Linked DNA regions of Homo sapiens: region 1 is linked to region 2. Evidence: promoter capture Hi-C in human tissues and cell types (Jung and others, 2019). All regions are on one chromosome and are shown on one strand. Each heading gives the region's core, a stretch centred on a gene start or on the middle of the fragment in contact. The rest is flanking DNA. Distances are from core to core; before and after follow the strand shown.

The links. The method cuts DNA at HindIII sites, captures the fragments that hold promoters and counts their contacts. A contact is called where the count stands out against the background at its distance.
Region 1: a contact is called between a fragment that was not itself captured here and the fragment with the promoter of DAG1 in region 2, in 2 of the 25 tissues and cell types used here (liver and stomach).

The regions. Positions count from the first base shown.
Region 1 is chr3:50,101,261-50,104,145 of GRCh38, forward strand. RBM5 (RNA binding motif protein 5) reads left to right here. Exons shown (of 25, transcript NM_005778.4): 7 at 1,823-1,906. Among named protein-coding and RNA genes, the nearest start is that of RBM5-AS1, 1.7 kb to the left of the region's middle. The HindIII fragment of the contact is 9,297 bases long and covers 1-2,885 here.
Region 2 is chr3:49,469,017-49,471,716 of GRCh38, forward strand. It overlaps DAG1 (dystroglycan 1), which reads left to right and starts at 1,251. Exons shown (of 3, transcript NM_004393.6): 1 at 1,251-1,417. RefSeq lists a silencer at 930-1,669. The HindIII fragment of the contact is 22,031 bases long and covers 1-2,274 here.

The DNA.
Region 1 (2,885 bases), core at 184-2,683, 630 kb after region 2:
GTCAAGATAATGTTCAGTGCTTGGCACTTAAATAACATTTTTTGCAAGAACTCCAAGGCACATTATTGAATGCCTTTAACCAAGTGCATTCTGGGAAGTTTGCTTGACTCATTATCTTGCTTTTCTGCAGCATTCTGTGATTTGAGTCATCCATGAATCCATGAATAAAAGTTACATTCTTTGATTGGTAATATTGCCATTTATAACAAGACTCACTAATGAGGGTATCACTTTGACTGACTGATTTGTTAAAGTTTTTAAGCCTCTCATTTTCCTAACCCAGAAATCACAGCCTGATTTTATTAAAAGTAGAGCTTCATTCATTTCATACCATAGATACCATCCTAGTAAATCCAGAACATATACAAGGTTCATGTGAGTCTGCTTTCTTGACATGATAGCATTGTTTGATGCAGTGGATATGTCAGAATGACTAACCTAGGAGTTTAAAACTCCTAAGAAACTAAAACCTGTAAGACATTTAAAAGTCTCCACAATTTTAATGTATACAAAGCTATGTTACTGTGTAACACATTACAGTTCAAATTCACTCCAGAAATAAAAGGCCAGTAGGATTAGGGACTCACTGGTAGTTTGGAGTCTCCCAGCACACATCCCTCCTAGTGGGATGATCTATTCACATATCTCCCAGCTTTTTTATTTTTGCTTCTGTATATCACAGTGAGTGGATGGCCCTTCAGCTTTTTCTCTCCTGGCCAGACATGCAGTCTTGCCTTTAGATATCGCAGAGACAAAATTCACAGCATGTCTTAAATCTTCCAGGATTTGCAAGAACCAAATTGCTCAACAGTATGTATGTTTAGAGGGGTTAGACTCCTTTTTAAAATCTGGATATCTAACCACCTACTTAAATCTGTTTGATAGTGTCAAACCACCCCCACCCTTGATCCTCCCACCCCCAAGAAAAAGAAAAGATGCTCCTGTTAAATGAAGGCTCTTTAGGGGTAGGTGCTAGGTATACTCTTGGCTAGATTGATTCAGCTCAGAATTTTGACTTTTTAAAGCTAAGTCCTTGTAGTCACATGGTTGACTTGAAGGATGAGGTGGTGTGTGCATTTATGAGCTTTTCCTACCCCCCTGAAGAAACTTCATTGGCCTCCTGGTTACTCACCTTGAAGAGAGTACCATCCATTTTAGTGAAAAACACATCTGTCACCTAGGACATGACATGGTTGCAGTTGACAGGAAAAAAAAAATCTCATTTAGTTGTTTTAGAGTTGGTGGCATTCAGAATAGTCCCTCTTGAGAAAGAATTGTAACCAGATTCCCTTTAAAAATGAGTTCCCCTCCCTTTCCCCCCAAAGGACTCATCCTGAAGCAGAAGGTGTGGGGGGAAGGAGAAATGTAAAGGCTTTTACTTTGCATAAGGATGGGGGACTGGGGAAAAAGGTGAAGCGAAGCCCAAGGACACCATGCTAAGGGCAAAAGTAAGAGACAGTCTCAGAACTGAGAGAATTGTGTCTTCTGCTTTTTGAAGTAGACTGTCACACTCAGGCAGCCTGTCAATGCTGAATGTTAGGACTTCTGTCTCCGCTGGAGACACGGCCTGGTGCAAGTCAGCGTTTAGTGTTTGACAGCTTTCTCAGCACTCCCTGACTCCGTTTACCTTTACTCCGCATCCCATTCTCTTACTGCCTATCTGAAGGATTGGATGGGCAGAGTATAGGTGGCGGTGGTTGGTCCTCCCCGTATGTTGTCCATTTAATTCCAGAGCACTGATTTTTCCGAAGTGTGCTCTGCCCTGGGAAAATGGACACATGTTCCTCACAATGGGAATAACTAATTACTTCTTTTCTTACAGAAAAAGTTGGTGATTCAAGGAAAGCACATTGCAATGCATTATAGCAATCCCAGACCTAAGTTTGAAGATTGGCTTTGTAACAAGGTAAGCATATGTTCTTCCCAAATAGACAAAACTCCTTTAGGATATTGCTGTTTTTTTCTGTTTGTTTATTTGACTGTCCAAACAAGGAAATTGTTACTCAATCATCAGTAATATTCATGGTTTGTTACTTTCCTTGGGTCCTCCTACACTGGTATTAGATGATAGAACTAGAGGTTTCGTTTATTAAGATGCACGTTCTGCTGGGCATGGTGGCTCACGCCTGTAATCCCAGCACTTTGGGAGGCCAAGGCGGGTAGATAGCTTGAGGCCAGGGGTTAGAGACCAGCCTGGCCAACATGGCAAAACCCCGTCTCTACTAAAAATACAAAAATTAGCTGGGCATCACGGTGCGCGCCTGTAATCCCAGCTACTCGGAGGTTGAGGCAGGAAAATCTCTTGAACACGGGAGGCAGAGGTTGCAATGAGCCAAGATCGCGCCACTGCACTCTAGCCTGGGTGACAGAGTGAGACTCTGTCTCAAAAAACAAAAAAGGACAACAAAAAGGATGCAGGTTCTAAGCCCAGTGATTAAGATTTTAGGTGTGTTTCATGTTACTGTTTATTGAATTCTAGAGCTCTCAGTTTTTGGCGTAGTCTCTTAACTGTATTAACCAAAATAGTTGAGAACCCTGCTAAAGTTATATAAGGTTTACCATTTTGAACTTGAATGTTGACATTGATATTTTGAGAGTGCTCAAACTGTGTCCCCTGTCCAGTAGGGGACTAGACAGTGGTTAGTTTACCTTGTGTTTGTGTATGTAGGATGGGATGTATAGTGCTCTGTTGATACAAGGAAGAGCTTCACCAGTGGCTTGCTGTAGAGTTTTCAAATTAACTGAACCCTTTCCTCGGCTTGATAATAATGGGATTCTTCTTCAACATACAACAAACTTTGTTTTTCTTGGGAGATTTTAACAGTGTTACATTCTGAATTTTTTAGGTTATGTCCCCATGTCTCAGCTACGTGAGACTTTCTGCT
Region 2 (2,700 bases), core at 1-2,500:
TTGGAGCCGAGACACTGAAGTATAGATAATTGCAAAAAGGTATGTTTTTGGGAGATGGGGCATTCCTTTCTTATCTCTGCAACTTGCATCTCCCAGACGCTCCTGAGGAGGGAGGGAAAGCCAGGGAGCCCCAGAGCTCTCCGGGATCCAGGGAGGAAACCATGGCTGGTGGCAGCCAGTTCTGTGTTCAGAATGTGCTTGCTGTCAAGAGTGCAGGCCTGGAATTCCAGCCTGGCCACAGGCCAAGGAGGGAATGGACCCATCCTGCGCATGGTGTGGGGATGAGAAGCAGAGCCCACCACGGGTCTCATTCCCAGACCCATCCGGTAACTGTCAGTTTCAGTAACTGTGAAGTCTGGGGCTTTTGGGGTGGGGGGCTGCAGGTTAAGTCCTGGGGAGAGCTAGAGCTACCTTAGGACCCTCCCCTTGAATGTTCCAGGCAGCAACCCCCCTCTCTTATTTCTTCCCCCACCAAAAGAATGCAGGCCACTAGGAGTGAGTGACCAGCGCCTGCGAGTTAGAGCTATTTTGGGCAGGAGAGCAGGCGTCGGATTCCAGTGTTCCAGGCAGGGGGAGGGGACGAGGGTTAGGCCTGAGGCGCTTTCCGACTCCCCAGCCTGCTGTGGGCGAGGCTCTAGGAGATGAGCTAGCTTCCCGCTCCTCCTGTCCCTGGCCTCAGTCTCCCATCCGTGTAAGGGCCGGGCAGCAAGGCTTTCATCCTTTGCAATTGAGAGAACGCTTCCTGATTGTTCTCATGGCTTAGAAATACCCCTTGATTTGCATTCGAAGGAAATAAGGAGGGCTGAACGCAGTCGACGGGTGGCCAGTTGCTGGGCCAGTTCGCAGTCCTGACTGTCCCTTGATTAGTCTTAGAGGCCCAAAGGCCTGAAGTTGGGCGGGGAGCCCCTCCCCCACACTACTGGTTCTGAAGGCTCCGAGTGACCGGGACCGACCGCCGGGGTGTGTCCCGGGACGGACTTCCCTGGCCGTGGGGGCGAGGCTTCCATAATGGGGCGTGACTTTTAGGGCGGGGGAGTGGCTAGCCAATGAGCAGAGAGGTGCTGGCCGGGGCGGGGCTTGCGCGCGGGTGCGGCGCGCTGCGGAGCGGCCGACGCAGGCAGAAGCCGGCGGCGCGCGGACAGCCAGTCGGCGCCGCGCGGAGCTGGCCGCTGGATTGGCTGCAACACTCGCGTGTCAGGCGGTTGCTAGGCTCCGGCCGCGCGCCCCGCCCTTGCGCTCAGCGCCCTCTCACCGCCCGGTACGTGCTCGCGCGAAGGCTGCGGCGCGGCGCTCGCGCCTCTTAGGCTTGGCGGTGGCGGCGGCGGCAGCTTCGCGCCGAATCCCCGGGGAGCGGCGGTGGCGGCGTCCTGGGGCCAGGAGGAGCGAACACCTGCCGCGGTCCTCCCGCCGGCGCTGGGTGAGTGCACCGCCCGCCCTATCCGCTGTGCCTGGCTGCTTGGGCCCCCATCCCTGCTGCCGGCTGAGCCTTCCGCGGAACACCTGCTGCTGCTCGCTGTTCGGCCCGGGGCGGGGACACGGCCGCGGACGTCCTTGTGGGTGAGGAGGCGGTGCCGCCCGGGCGGAGCCGCCCCTTTGCTCTGGGTCCCGCAGGCAAAGGCTCGGAGCGTTCGGCTGCAAGGCCCGGGCCGCGCGCCGCGGCGATGGGCCAGGCCTTAGCTCGGCCCGCGCTCCCGGGAACGTGGAGCCTGCGCCTTGGCCGCGGTCGTGAGCCGCCTGCGGGCCGCCTCCCTGGCTTCCAATAGGGGTTGTGGCCCAGTTGGGCCGGATTCCGACTGTGGGGAGTCGAGCCCCGCTAGAGGCAGGGAAGGGCACCGCTGCCGCCACTGCTCTGTCAGAGCTGCTCAGAGCCTTGGTGGGTTCCGTCATCCTTACTTGAGCTCCTTTGGAAGCTTGTTTACTTACTACCTTTTCACTTTGTATTTGGCAGACCTGGTTCACCTGCGAGTGTATTTGGATAGTGTCTCCACAGAAAATGTCGTCTCGGCTTGGAATCTTTTTGCCATAAATTCTAAGTTAGTTTCCTACAAACTCAACTGGTAACTTAAAATGCATCCTTTAATCTCTATAACTTGAAAAGTTCTTATTTTTGTAAATCGAGTTGCTTCAGAATTAGTTTTAATGGTGACGATGAAGTTTTGACTGGTTGAGGCAAGAGCCTGGGACAGCACCTTCATAGCGCAGAGTCTAACTTAAGATTCTAGCCTGCTGCTTCCCTAAATAAGCGAGTAGAAGTGACTCCTGGCATAGAAGCCAGACTCCGTGAAGGGAAGGTGGTGTTTATAGGACATAATTCCAGATAAAGAGCTGGATGTGCTTTCAGGTGTTTTGCAAAGTCTGGTGTAGATGGGGTATTGCAGTTTTATCAGGTTCTATGCTTAGTTAAGTTCAGAGACATTATTTTGGAATGTTCCTGTTCTAAAAAAGAATTCAACCGTACTACATTTTGGAGGCATAAAAATCCATAGTTTGAGTATGGAGAAGTTTAGTTGAACTTTTGTGGGTTTTTTTTGCTGTGAACTAAGGAAGAAGAGCTCATGGCCTGTGTCCTGTATTTTGGAGAAATCAGATTTCAGTAGGGAGTTGGATCCATCATGTGAAGACCCTATGGGATATAAAAGCTTGTGCTGACATGTGCTTTTGTTAAAAGAGGCACAGTGCAAATCCTCACTGTTCTTAAAA